5 separate regions of the Homo sapiens genome follow, and all the other regions are linked to region 2. The links are contacts of gene promoters, found by promoter capture Hi-C in blood cells and fetal thymus (Javierre and others, 2016). All regions are on one chromosome and are shown on one strand. Each heading gives the region's core, a stretch centred on a gene start or on the middle of the fragment in contact. The rest is flanking DNA. Distances are from core to core; before and after follow the strand shown.

Region 1 (2,700 bases), core at 40-2,539, 2.0 Mb before region 2:
TATGTGTGTATATATTTATGTGTGTATATGTATACATTTGTATTATACATTTTTTCCCTCTCTTTCAAGATCACCATGGATAGTGAGGACAGCCACACATTTTTGAGTATTTCCTATGTTAGTGCTTAAGACAGTACTTCCTATCTCTAAGGATTTGAAATTTATTTGGAGAGACCAGACATGTACAGACTGAGATAAATAATGAATAATAATAGGGACCACAGAGGCAGATTTATTGTGAAGCTAATGAAGCTCCAGCCCCAGGGCCCCTGACTTGTACAACGCATTCCTTGCCGTTTTTGAATATATTGCCAGGGCCCACCCAGCACTTTCCAGGGCCCTGGAGGAGCCCTAGCAGTATACGTAGCTGGGCCTTCATGGGATCATAACTGGTAAAATTGGAAGAAGATTTTAAGCAATCCTTTAATGTTTTTCTTTCTCATTCTGACTTCCCTGCTGTCACATTTCTGTTTGGGTTTGATGACATTGGACTTGAAAGTGCTTTTGAGATATAGCTAGGGGGAAGTCGAATTGGGTCCACATTTTGTTTGGGTTTAGTGGGATGTATTTATGCAGTTCACAGTCATCTCTGTGTCAAGTTATCCCTAGCCATCCTAGTGTAGAAGTTGCTTCATAGGATCGCCACCCACCGTGCCAGCTTACCTGGGGTCCTTACACAAAGGGGAGGGTCAGAGAGAGAATTGCAGTGTTAACGGGTACCATGACATCTGCTGTGGGATGGTTTATGGTGCGTGGAGCCAGGTCTGTGGAGAATTCTTTCACTTGTTAGATGTGTAAAATTCTACGTGGAGGATTCAGTTCTTATCTAAGTGTAGTCAGTATGAAAATTCTCTTCTTTTAGGAATATACTCAATAATACAAATATACTATTAGAAATGCACCATTTTTAATGGGAATTCTGTGTTTAAGATTCTTGTTCATTTGACATGAATATGCCTGATACCAAAAATACTGACAACAAACTGGTTAATGAGTATCATTGATAAAAAGAATATTTAAAGTTAGTCATTGCACGAGAAAACTTGAAATGTCCTGGATTTTTATGGCTCATATGTGAAAGAAAATTAAGAGATGTGATTACAGGTTTGACAACAATCCTAAAAATGTATATGTCATTGCCAATAAAGAACTATAAGGCTAAAAGTAACTTTTCTGAATTGTCAATAATTAGGAATAAATTTTGATCACCCATGCTTGAGGGGAGATTGATTCATCTTTCTGCCCTGTGGAAAATGATATGAATATAAGTCATTGTGATATGAGGATTCATCAGAGTATACAGCCCAAAAGAAGTATTTATAGCAGTGTGTCAGGAAGTTAATTAATACACATACTGGGTTCTTTTCCTGGATTCTGATTTTAGGATGTTTTGGTATTGCGGCTTGTAAAATTTTGTGATTTGTTGTGATTTCTTAATCTCAATAGATAATCACTTTTGTAAACATTTTATAACATTCAATTTTTTTTCATAAGAAAAGTCTGAATCTGCAGGCCCACAAAACTTGGGTCTATTCCTTGAGCTCCCAATTCGGGAATCATTACTATATGTGCCACAGACAGTGCTAAATAATTTTTGTATAGTATTTCATTGGCCCTCACAGCAAGCCTGTGAAGTAGACATTACCCCCATCCTGTAAGTACTGCCTTCCGCTTTGGAGTTAAATATGCTACCATATTAGTTAAATAACACACTTAGTGAAATATGAACTAGAGTGTTTGTTTATATTGGTATAAAACAGAAATATTTTTCTTCAGGACAGAAAGCCTCTTTTACCTCAATAAATATCATTATTTTAATGGGTCTTCCCCTCTCTGTCCTGTAGCCCCTGCCCACAGCTGCACCAGCGGGGGTGTGCTCTGAACTGTGTGGTCACCTCCTGTGCACTGTTTCCTCCCCCAGAAACTCAGGGTCTTGTCATCATCCTATCCTCGTCCCCAAGACGTGTTTTCAGAAATGGTATGAAAATAAAAATTGAGAAGTACTTTGGGCTGTGAAAAAAATAAATTACAAAGGTAACTTTGGACAGTGAAAAACATCTTTGAAATTAATTTCTGTAGGTTTGCATCAATGAGGGCTGTATATTTATATGTTTATGTGTTTATGGCATTCACACAAATATCCATTATGCAATTAGTCCAGTATGGTTTATATTAAGGGAATCTGAAAGAGACTCTTTTTAAAGCTGATTTAAAAAGGAAATTGATTTTCCTTGTTAAATTGCCAGGGGTATTTGGTACACAGGAGGCAGAGGCCTGGGTGGTGAGAAGCATGGACTGTGAAGCTATACAGAATTGGATTTTGAATCCTCCTGATCTCACTAACTTGAGCTTTTCAAACTTGGGCAGCTCTTACAGTCTTATTTATATGAGATAGTAATACTATTATTTATTATTTGGGGGGATCCCGAGATTGATTTTCCTTTCACAGTACCTACTGGCTAGTTGCTTTAATATGCATTATGCAGTGTTAGTCCCATGCGACGCAGGAGGAAGCCAGGACACAGAGCAAAGAACAGCCAGGAAAATGCCCGGGGTAGCCAGGGCCGGCTTTGCTGCCAGGTGTGCCCATATACTCAGTGCTTGCTCTTTACAGCCTAAGTTGTGATCTTTTACAAGATGTTTGCATTTTCATTGAAGGCTCTTCCGCACCTGAAAGTCTTGGAGAAATAAATACAGAAA
Region 2 (2,700 bases), core at 1-2,500:
AGGCCAGCCGCGAGGCCACCGCCCGACCCTCCACTCCTTCCCGCAGCTCCCGGCGCGGGGTCCGGCGAGAAGGGGAGGGGAGGGGAGCGGAGAACCGGGCCCCCGGGACGCGTGTGGCATCTGAAGCACCACCAGCGAGCGAGAGCTAGAGAGAAGGAAAGCCACCGACTTCACCGCCTCCGAGCTGCTCCGGGTCGCGGGTCTGCAGCGTCTCCGGCCCTCCGCGCCTACAGCTCAAGCCACATCCGAAGGGGGAGGGAGCCGGGAGCTGCGCGCGGGGCCGCCGGGGGGAGGGGTGGCACCGCCCACGCCGGGCGGCCACGAAGGGCGGGGCAGCGGGCGCGCGCCCGGCGGGGGGAGGGGCCGCGCGCCGCGCCCGCTGGGAATTGGGGCCCTAGGGGGAGGGCGGAGGCGCCGACGACCGCGGCACTTACCGTTCGCGGCGTGGCGCCCGGTGGTCCCCAAGGGGAGGGAAGGGGGAGGCGGGGCGAGGACAGTGACCGGAGTCTCCTCAGCGGTGGCTTTTCTGCTTGGCAGCCTCAGCGGCTGGCGCCAAAACCGGACTCCGCCCACTTCCTCGCCCCTGCGGTGCGAGGGTGTGGAATCCTCCAGACGCTGGGGGAGGGGGAGTTGGGAGCTTAAAAACTAGTACCCCTTTGGGACCACTTTCAGCAGCGAACTCTCCTGTACACCAGGGGTCAGTTCCACAGACGCGGGCCAGGGGTGGGTCATTGCGGCGTGAACAATAATTTGACTAGAAGTTGATTCGGGTGTTTCCGGAAGGGGCCGAGTCAATCCGCCGAGTTGGGGCACGGAAAACAAAAAGGGAAGGCTACTAAGATTTTTCTGGCGGGGGTTATCATTGGCGTAACTGCAGGGACCACCTCCCGGGTTGAGGGGGCTGGATCTCCAGGCTGCGGATTAAGCCCCTCCCGTCGGCGTTAATTTCAAACTGCGCGACCGTTTCTCACCTGCCTTGCGCCAAGGCAGGGGGCGGGACCCTATTCCAAGAGGTAGTAACTAGCAGGACTCTAGCCTTCCGCAATTCATTGAGCGCATTTACGGAAGTAACGTCGGGTACTGTCTCTGGCCGCAAGGGTGGGAGGAGTACGCATTTGGCGTAAGGTGGGGCGTAGAGCCTTCCCGCCATTGGCGGCGGATAGGGCGTTTACGCGACGGCCTGACGTAGCGGAAGACGCGTTAGTGGGGGGGAAGGTTCTAGAAAAGCGGCGGCAGCGGCTCTAGCGGCAGTAGCAGCAGCGCCGGGTCCCGTGCGGAGGTGCTCCTCGCAGAGTTGTTTCTCGAGCAGCGGCAGTTCTCACTACAGCGCCAGGACGAGTCCGGTTCGTGTTCGTCCGCGGAGATCTCTCTCATCTCGCTCGGCTGCGGGAAATCGGGCTGAAGCGACTGAGTCCGCGATGGAGGTAACGGGTTTGAAATCAATGAGTTATTGAAAAGGGCATGGCGAGGCCGTTGGCGCCTCAGTGGAAGTCGGCCAGCCGCCTCCGTGGGAGAGAGGCAGGAAATCGGACCAATTCAGTAGCAGTGGGGCTTAAGGTTTATGAACGGGGTCTTGAGCGGAGGCCTGAGCGTACAAACAGCTTCCCCACCCTCAGCCTCCCGGCGCCATTTCCCTTCACTGGGGGTGGGGGATGGGGAGCTTTCACATGGCGGACGCTGCCCCGCTGGGGTGAAAGTGGGGCGCGGAGGCGGGAATTCTTATTCCCTTTCTAAAGCACGCTGCTTCGGGGGCCACGGCGTCTCCTCGGCGAGCGTTTCGGCGGGCAGCAGGTCCTCGTGAGCGAGGCTGCGGAGCTTCCCCTCCCCCTCTCTCCCGGGAACCGGATTTGGCGGCCGCCATTTTCATGGCTCGCCTTCCTCTCAGCGTTTTCCTTATAACTCTTTTATTTTCTTAGTGTGCTTTCTCTATCAAGAAGTAGAAGTGGTTAACTATTTTTTTTTCTTCTCGGGCTGTTTTCATATCGTTTCGAGGTGGATTTGGAGTGTTTTGTGAGCTTGGATCTTTAGAGTCCTGCGCACCTCATTAAAGGCGCTCAGCCTTCCCCTCGATGAAATGGCGCCATTGCGTTCGGAAGCCACACCGAAGAGCGGGGAGGGGGGGTGCTCCGGGTTTGCGGGCCCGGTTTCAGAGAAGATATCACCACCCAGGGCGTCGGGCCGGGTTCAATGCGAGCCGTAGGACAAAGAAACCATTTTATGTTTTTCCTGTCTTTTTTTTCCTTTGAGTAACGGTTTTATCTGGGTCTGCAGTCAGTAAAACGACAGATGAACCGCGGCAAAATAAACATAAATTGGAAGCCATCGGCCACGAGGGGCAGGGACGAAGGTGGTTTTCTGGGCGGGGGAGGGATATTCGCGTCAGAATCCTTTACTGTTCTTAAGGATTCCGTTTAAGTTGTAGAGCTGACTCATTTTAAGTAATGTTGTTACTGAGAAGTTTAACCCTTACGGGACAGATCCATGGACCTTTATAGATGATTACGAGGAAAGTGAAATAACGATTTTGTCCTTAGTTATACTTCGATTAAAACATGGCTTCAGAGGCTCCTTCCTGTAATGCGTATGGATTGATGTGCAAAACTGTTTTGGGCCTGGGCCGCTCTGTATTTGAACTTTGTTACTTTTCTCATTTTGTTTGCAATCTTGGTTGAACATTACATTGATAAGCATAAGGTCTCA
Region 3 (2,700 bases), core at 44-2,543, 1.9 Mb before region 2:
TAAACAGTGTCAGTCTGGGTCAAACGAGGAGACAAAAACCACAAAGGAATTTAAACAGGAAGTTTAGTGTAAGGAATTACTAAACTAAGATAGGAGAGTAACTATAAAGATGTAAAGAAAACTCAATAAGTGCCCTAAGGCTGAAGAAAAATACGCAAGGAAGGACACACTCGGAAGCCACTCCCCAAGGCTGGGTTCAGACTGCTTTGGAGAGGATGTGGATGTCGCTCCCTGTGATGTCACAGAAGTTTGCTGGCTTTGGGGCACAGGCAACCTGAGGCTGGTGGAGAGTTGGAGTATCACGGTGGGCACTTGGAGTATCACGGTGGGCACAAGGCCTGCATGCAGCATGCAGGGTCTGTGTGGGAGGCCTGTGGAAAGGTGGTTACTCAGCCTCAGGACAGGGCTGCGTAGTCACTAAGGGACTGCATGCTCTGCACACAAGACTGGAGCAGAGATGTCCCTATATACATGCACCGCTGAAGGACAGTGAAGCAGCAGCAAGAAAACGTCAAAACACAGTACTCTGGAGCCATTACAGTGTCCCTGCGGCGCCCTCTACTGACAAGGCCTAACACTGAGGTCACTCTAACTAACTAATATTGAGCTCACTCAATCTTAGGCTTTGAGTAAGGAAGAAATGCTTCGAGTCCAGTCCATTATCACAGAGCAGCTATTAAGGGGTGTATTTGGAGTTGAACAGTGATGACCTGACGGTTGGCACAACCCCAAATCCCAGATCCCAGTTTAGCCAGGGGCATTTTGTTTTGTTGTGATAATTTATAAACAAATCAATAGGAGCTCATTTCTCTTGCAGGGTTCACGCTCTACCTTGTAACTGAAGTACTCAGTAAAAAATTCTGTGGTTTTGCTGGGTTTCCCCACTCCGTCCTTCACCGTTAGGCCAGATCCTTTGTGTCCAATCACATTTCTGTATGGCTGTTCATTCATCAAACCTAAATATAAAAATAAAGATTTTCATGGCTGGGCAAAATGTGTTCATGATAATAAGATTGATTTTGATACTTTAAAAATGTTCACATATTAAAATCAAGAAATACCCACTTGTCTTACTAAAGCCAGCTCTTTCAGATTGTATGCATGGTGTATGTCTTTTTACATTATTTGTAATATACTGGGTTTTCACCATTGTAAATACGGCCATTCTGGGCCTGAAAACTCTCCTGGCTCTTATTTGTGTAGCTCTATCTCATAAGGCTTAGTAAGAGCAAGGGATAATCACGTTTAACAAAGCCATTTCTTTTTGCTATTAACATGCTCACCTTTACACTTGATGGCAACAGCTGAATCCCTCCATTAGGCATCATTAAAATTATTCTTTGGGTTATTTTGATTAATGCTTTTTACTTTCATTGTACTCCCTCTTGGTCCTAAATGGTAAGAGCAGTTAAATAGGAGTGTTCAGCGGAGTGTGTCTGCCATTCATTGTTATGCATATATTTATGTGTTTTGTGTACTTTCTTAAACAGAGGTTTCATAAAAATGAGTGCACTGGCAGAAATGTTTATATAAAATTACATTTTGCAGAGCTTGATTTTATAACGTGATCATACAAGAGAGAATGTTAAGGAGTAGAAAGCAGCATCTGCATTGTAAGGTCTCATCATGGTACCACAATCTAATAGTAATAGTAATAATAATGCCTTGTTTTCTTTTGAATGCTGGCTATGGCCAGCCGTATTCTAAGTGCTTTACTGCACTAACTCATTTGATCCTTACAAAAACCCATGTATGAGGCAAGTACTATTCTTGTTCCCATTTTAGAAGTAGGAATATTAAAGCAGAGTTTAAATAACTTCCCAAGGCTGCCTGGCTAATCAGTGCTGTGCAGAAATTTGAACCCAGGCACTAGTTTCAAAGCTCTCATTCTGAACCATTGTAAATCATACTGCCTGCAGGATCAGTGGAAGAGATTTTTTTCAATTGTACTGCCAATGTGACAAGACAGGAAGAAATGCTCAGATGCTAAATACCAAGTGAAATTTGGAAACCCAGAGAGAGCTCTGGAGGCTCTGGACTTTCACCCTGAACTTGCTCTTAGGTTTTTACAACCTCCAGAGCCACAGAAGGAAAACTCTAGGCCCACCCAAGTTGAACTGTATAATTAGCAAAGGCTCCTCCCACCATGGAACTGGTACCTCTAAGCTATATTCTCTTGGTAATGGCAAGCTAGAAAAAAACCTGAGACTCCTCCAAGGAAAATTTTCTGTCTTGAACCTTAGAGCTATGTGGAGGAGCAAAAAATAAATCTCCTCAGAAAATCTGTAACCACAGAACAGCTTGTGGATTTACAGCTGAAATTCACACTAGCTGAATGGTCAGAAAAACATTCAGCTTAGAATCTAATTAAAATGGTACCAGGTTGGTAGTTGCTCTTGTCAGCTAGCAGAAGCAAATGCAGATTCTTTGTGAAGGAATTCTTTATTTGACCATAAAGAATCGTTACAGAATTCCTAAAATACATTAGCTCCCATTCAAAAATCTCAAAACACACACAAAAAATAAATCATTATGAACAAGAGTCAGCAGAATCAACCTGCAAAGACTTCAGGTACTGAATTTATCAGACATAATACATAAAATAAGTAAGTTTACTATGTTTACAAAAATGGAAGAGAAGATTGAAAATATGTCTAAGGAGCAAGAGTATTGAAATAACAAAGAAAATTTGAAAAGCAG
Region 4 (2,700 bases), core at 133-2,632, 1.5 Mb before region 2:
TGGTCAAAGAAGGGCATTAACTTCCTCCCAGTTACAGATAGGGACCTTGCACTCTGTACAAGTTTTTAAGTTTTTGGAAACGTTGCCAGCATGCCCAGAAACATGAAAAGAGCCCAGATGGAAATGATCCAATTCCTTTGCTTTCAACTCCATGGGTTACTGAGTTGAAAAAAAGGTCAAAGTCAAATTTTGTTGATTGTGCTACTTAGATTGGGGTTCGCATTTCCCTAGCTACTCCATACACATTCTCTTTCCTGCTGTATTGCCATTCTCCAAAGGCTATAGTCTTGCTTTGGTGTGGTCATGGCTTCCAACCCTTTGGTGGAGTCAGTGGAGATGAGAAGGCCTGCAATTACCCCCAAGGGGTTTACAGACTCAAATATGTACACTAAGCATTGACAGAAGAATGACTAAATGTCTGTCTCTCTGCACCGCGCAGTGGCTCACGCCTGTAATAACCAGCACTTTGGGAGGCCGAGGCGGGCGGATCACTTGACGCCAGGAGTTTGAGACCAGCCTAGGCAAAATGGCGACACCCCGCCTCTACTCAAAGTGCCAAAAAAATTAGCCGGGTGTGGTGGCGCACGCAGGCCTATAGTCCCACCTCACCTACTCCGGAGGCTGAAGCAGGAGAATCACTTGAACCCGGGAGGCGGAGATTGCAGTGAGCCGAGATCGCGCCACTGCACTCCAGCCTGGGTGACAGAGAGACTCCGTCTCCAAAAAAAAAAAAGGTCTTTCTAATACACATACATATACTACTACTTTCTGGATTTTATATTTAGTTTTGCTTACAAAATGGATTTAGGGTGTAGAATTTTCAAAGATTAGAGAAATATGCCTTGAAATAGAAAGTGCAAGTTTCTAGTAACTCTTCCCTTCAAAGATAATGTTACCAACTTCTTTTCCTACTATTTTTAGTATTGAGAAACTGTTGTGTTAAGTAAAATCAAATGAATTTAAAAGTTATTACACACATGGTAGCTTTCTGAGTGTTTTTCAAGCTGCGAGTCAGTTTTGTCCTTTTTAACACGCAGCGGTTGTGGGGACAAGGTTTCCGAGGAGGCGGGAGCGAGCGACGGCCCCCGCCTCCCACACGCCCTCTGCTTTGGTAAACAAGGAGACTCCCGCCCGCAGGCTGTAAATGAGGCACGAGCTTGGGGGCAGCGCCAGGGCGCCTGGCGTCACTGTTCAAAAAGGCCTCTTATTGGTCCTTCGCACAGCTGCGGACCTGGGAATTCTGATTGGTCTGCTTCCCTGTCCGTAAAGGGATTGACAGGCCCTGCCGCGTCAGGCCGCTCCTCTCGGCTCCGCGCTCCTTCCCTCGCGCGTGGGCACCCGCCCCCGAGCGGTGAGAGCGCGTGCGCGCGCGCCCTTCTCCGTGGGCGAGCCAGCCAGTCCCGCTGCACACGCTCGCAGTCTGTGGGCCCTCCGGGAGGCGGCGGAGGTCACCGCGGGGAGAGGGGCGGGCGCAGCATGGCAGCCTCCTTACGGCTCCTCGGAGCTGCCTCCGGTCTCCGGTACTGGAGCCGGCGGCTGCGGCCGGCAGCCGGCAGCTTTGCAGCGGGTAAGGACCTCACGCCTCCTCCCCCTTGTCCTTCTTTCGGCCGCTCGCTTCTTCTGTCCAGACGGCCGAAGAAGTCTTTTCTCGGGAGGCCCTGCGGTTGGGCTGGGGCTTAAAAAACAATATTTTGGCTGGTACTAAAGGCCTGTCCTTTTCTGCGGCCGCCACTCACTCCGCGAGTACCCCCCTCTGCCTTCCCTCCCTTTCTCCCGGGCTCCTGATGAACGGGTTCAGCGCCCTTTTCGGGATTTAGGAAGAGGTGGGGAAGAGCTTGGGCTGAAGAGAAGAGAGTATTTGGGACCCCGGCATGCTGCTTTGGAGTTAGGACTCCGAGGACGTTTGGAGCGCCCAACTCCAGGAGCAACCCGCACTCACCCCAGCGACCCCTGGTCTTTCAGCGCCCCCAGGGTGCACCTTGGGTTGGGGACACACTTGGGCAGCAGGGCCTGATGTTTAACCACCTGAGTCCGAGGGGATGGCCTTATTACACAAGCGGTGGCTGTACAAGCCAGGCAGTAAGTCTTTCAGCAAAGTTTCAGTCACCCTTGACCAGCAAGACGGGCTTCCCCCCTCTACTGTAACCTAAAAAAATGTCATTTTTGTCAAATTATGAACCAAAACACGTTCAGCGTCCTCAAGATTGTGGGCAGAATTAATCCTGCCTCCCTCCTCTCATACCATGGTAAATTGTGGAAGCTAGCCATGAACTTACAAAGAGGCAGTTTTTAGAGCCAGGATGAAGATCCACGGAGATCTAATACAGTCTTTCATACTCCGCACGAGGGACATGAGGCCCCTTGGATGAGTGAATCAGGATATTCCCAGCAAGACCTAGAAAGTTGTTATCAGTTGTTCCTAATTCCTTAACTTTCTATCACACCAGGACTCCTCTTTAATTGAAAAATTGGTTGATTTGTGGGGGCACTGCCGTTGTCTTCCTCAAACTGAAAGTTTGAGAGTTGTAACAATGCATCGTTTAGCAAGATCATACTGAGGATTAATAACAAAAAAAACCTTGGCATTAATTTTTTCTAATCTTTGCTTAAAAAAAAAATAGTGGGTTAGGATTTGAGCCCCTTGGCCCCCCGCCCTTTTTTTTTTTTTTTTTTTTTTTTGAGACAGGGTCTCTGTCGCCC
Region 5 (2,700 bases), core at 130-2,629, 1.6 Mb before region 2:
TCAATACTTCAGAGGGAGTGAAAAAACTAAAAGGAACAAAAACCTCCAACCCAGTCTATATCCCTTGTTTGGCTTCACTCATTTCCCTACCCAACCTGGACTTCACTATCAGTCAATCATTTCAATAATGTACTCAAAACCACCATAGTATCCTTTGTCCTCTTAACTTCCCTTCCCATTCCCACCCTTTTCCAACACCCAATTTGAATGACAGCCACTTCTGGCACTCTTGACACAACTCCAGATGCTGAATCTCTCTGGAAAAAGTCATAAAATTGCTGCTTAGTAATCTTCTGGTTAAGCCACTCCGATTCCCTATGACATTATTCCACAGTAGCAAGACCAATTATCTATACTCAAGCCCTCCCCAACTTTTAACATATGACCTTGCTCCTCCTTACTGAGATGCCATAGAATGAGTGCCAGTTCTAATTCAATTGACTGTTGACATATCCTATGAATTCTACTTATGGATTATTACACACAACTTACTTCCTTCTCCACTTTAGGCTTTCATTATCTCACATAGAAAATTAGGATAGTCTAAACGTTCTCTTTACCTCCATTCCTTTCGAATTCCAATTTATCTTACTCAGCACTATAAGATTAAGCTTCACTTCTAAACTTTATTACTCCTTACTTAAAAACTATCCCTCAAATATTAAAACAATCTACAACATGATCCAAACTAACTTTTCCCATTCATCTTCTAAAACTGGTATCTGTAGCTGGGCATGGTGGTTCACGCCTGCAATCCCAGCACTTATTTAGGCTGAGGCGGGTGGATCGCTTGAGCCCAGGAGTTCGAGACCAGCCCGGGCAACATGGCAAAACCCAGTCTCTAAAAAAATAATAATAATAAATTTTTAATTGATAGCTGTCCCAGGCAAATCAAATTCCTTAACACTTTCTCAAGCATACTACTTTCCCATCTTCATTCCTCCTCCCTTACAATTGCTACCCAGGCACTCTCTTCCTGCCTGCTTGTCAATATGGTGTCTATCAAAATCACTCTAGAGGGCAATTTGCAGTACACATAAAGTGCTTAAAAACAAACAATGCCATAAACATGGTGATTCTACTTCCAAGAACTTACCTTATGAAATAAGTAGACAAAATAAAGATAGGTAGAGATCTTTATTAAGTATTAATGATAAGCATTTAGCAACAATGTAAATTCCAATAGTAAGAAACTGGTTCAACGAATATATACACACACTATGATGCATCAGTAGTATGTGTGTATATATTTATTATACACACATTATGCATGTGTATAATTATTTGTAATTTTATTACATGTAGCTATATACCAATATGTTAACAATAGTTAACAGTAGGTAAAAGTGTTAAGCATGATTATTTTCTTCCTTGAGCCTTCCTGTATTACCTGAAATCTTTACTACATGCCTGAACTTCCTATTGAGTTTTAAAGTTTTATGCTGGCAAAAAGGATGGAAAGGGTATTAAACAGAAGATTTTTTTTTCTTTTTTGCTGAGAGAAAACTTACAATCCTTAAAGTGCACAATGAAAGAAGTATAGTTTAGCATTACCAAAGCAAAAAGGCAGCAGCAGGAATGACCAAAACTGAAGCTGGAAATAAAATCTTATACAGGAGCCCTGTATGGCTCTAGGTTATTTGGTCTTGGCATTATTCTACAGATGATGAAGAACCAATGAAGAGTTTCAAACAACAGAAAGACATGTTCAGGTTTCCATTTTACAGCTTATATAGAGCAGTTAAAAAACAAAGGTTAGAGGACAAGAATGAAAGTGGGTAAAACAGCTGACCTATTGCAATAGTCTTGGTAAAAAATATGGAAGGCATGAACTAGTGATATTAAGGATTTAGAAATATGTAAGCAGTAAAATGGTTAGAACTGATTGTTTGGATTTGAAGGGAAAGTCACAGTCTTTTGGCTTTAAAAAAATGAAAAAATATAAGAAATAAACAAGTAGTCTGCAGGAAAAAGGTAATAATTCATCTTCCTGAAACATACTTTTTCAAACAACCTATACATATACAAAGACTTCCCACTGTCCTTCAGAAAAAAGTCCATAAACTCTCTAACACTGAAGGTCGTCCATAGACAGAATGAAACTTATCTCCAATCTCATCTCCCACAACTTCCCTAACTGAAGCTTATGCTCTAGTTAAACTGACTTACTCATTCTCATGAACATTCCTACCTCTAAGCCTCTGCTTATACAGATTCAGTATCCCTTATCCGAAATGCTTGAGACCAGAAGTGCTTTGGATTTCTAAATCTGTCAGATTTTGGAGTATTTGCATTATACCTACTGGTTGGGCATCCCAAATCCAAAACATAAAATGTTCCAATAAGCATTTCCTTTGCACATCATGTCAGCATTCAAAAAGTTTTGGATTTTAAAGCATTTCAGATTTTAGATTTTCAGATTTAGGATGTTCAACCTGTACCATTTTCCTGCTGGAAATGCCCTTCTTTTTCCTCAGTCACATTTCTGTTTTCTTCCTCTCTGCTCTGTTACTACAGAAAACATCAGTTCTCAATCAGTATCTTTAACTTGATACCAGTATCTCCCATAAAATCGAAACTACTACTGAGGCCAGGTGCGGTGGCTCACACCTGTAATCCCAGCACTTTGGGAGGCTGGGACAGGAGGATCACTTAAGCCTAGGAAGTTAAAACCAGCCTAGGCAACATAGTGAGACCCTG

What was found. Contacts are between HindIII fragments. The CHiCAGO score rates a contact against its expected background, and 5 or more counts as called.
Region 1: a contact is called between a fragment that was not itself captured here and the fragment with the promoter of HNRNPA2B1 in region 2, in 1 of 17 cell types (neutrophils). The highest score is 6.0, in neutrophils.
Region 3: a contact is called between a fragment that was not itself captured here and the fragment with the promoter of HNRNPA2B1 in region 2, in 1 of 17 cell types (neutrophils). The highest score is 6.5, in neutrophils.
Region 4: the fragment with the promoter of HIBADH here is called in contact with the fragment with the promoter of HNRNPA2B1 in region 2 in 1 of 17 cell types (neutrophils); the score reaches 5.9 in neutrophils.
Region 5: a contact is called between a fragment that was not itself captured here and the fragment with the promoter of HNRNPA2B1 in region 2, in 1 of 17 cell types (neutrophils). The highest score is 7.2, in neutrophils.

What each region holds. Positions count from the first base shown.
Region 1 is chr7:28,170,726-28,173,425 of GRCh38, reverse strand. All of the region lies in intron 1 of JAZF1 (JAZF zinc finger 1), which reads left to right. Among named protein-coding and RNA genes, the nearest start is that of JAZF1-AS1, 8.4 kb to the left of the region's middle. The HindIII fragment of the contact is 5,027 bases long and covers 1-2,700 here.
Region 2 is chr7:26,199,296-26,201,995 of GRCh38, reverse strand. HNRNPA2B1 (heterogeneous nuclear ribonucleoprotein A2/B1) reads left to right here and starts at 1,250. Exons shown (of 11, transcript NM_002137.4): 1 at 1,250-1,424. The coding sequence starts at 1,419. It overlaps CBX3 (chromobox 3), which reads right to left and starts at 251. Exons shown (of 6, transcript NM_016587.4): 1 at 170-251. RefSeq lists a silencer at 1-366 and enhancers at 1,307-1,696, 862-1,834, 1,807-1,926, 1,835-2,700. The HindIII fragment of the contact is 8,290 bases long and covers 1-2,700 here.
Region 3 is chr7:28,060,177-28,062,876 of GRCh38, reverse strand. All of the region lies in intron 1 of JAZF1 (JAZF zinc finger 1), which reads left to right. It overlaps LOC105375208 (a long non-coding RNA gene), which reads right to left. Exons shown (of 4, transcript XR_001744910.3): 4 at 663-956. Among named protein-coding and RNA genes, the nearest start is that of JAZF1-AS1, 120 kb to the left of the region's middle. The HindIII fragment of the contact is 2,901 bases long and covers 1-2,700 here.
Region 4 is chr7:27,661,565-27,664,264 of GRCh38, reverse strand. HIBADH (3-hydroxyisobutyrate dehydrogenase) reads left to right here and starts at 1,382. Exons shown (of 8, transcript NM_152740.4): 1 at 1,382-1,567. The coding sequence starts at 1,477. All of the region lies in intron 2 of LOC105375211 (a long non-coding RNA gene), which reads right to left. RefSeq lists a silencer at 1,193-1,612 and an enhancer at 828-1,645. The HindIII fragment of the contact is 13,796 bases long and covers 1-2,700 here.
Region 5 is chr7:27,749,979-27,752,678 of GRCh38, reverse strand. All of the region lies in intron 2 of TAX1BP1 (Tax1 binding protein 1), which reads right to left. Among named protein-coding and RNA genes, the nearest start is that of TAX1BP1-AS1, 11 kb to the right of the region's middle. The HindIII fragment of the contact is 1,532 bases long and covers 614-2,145 here.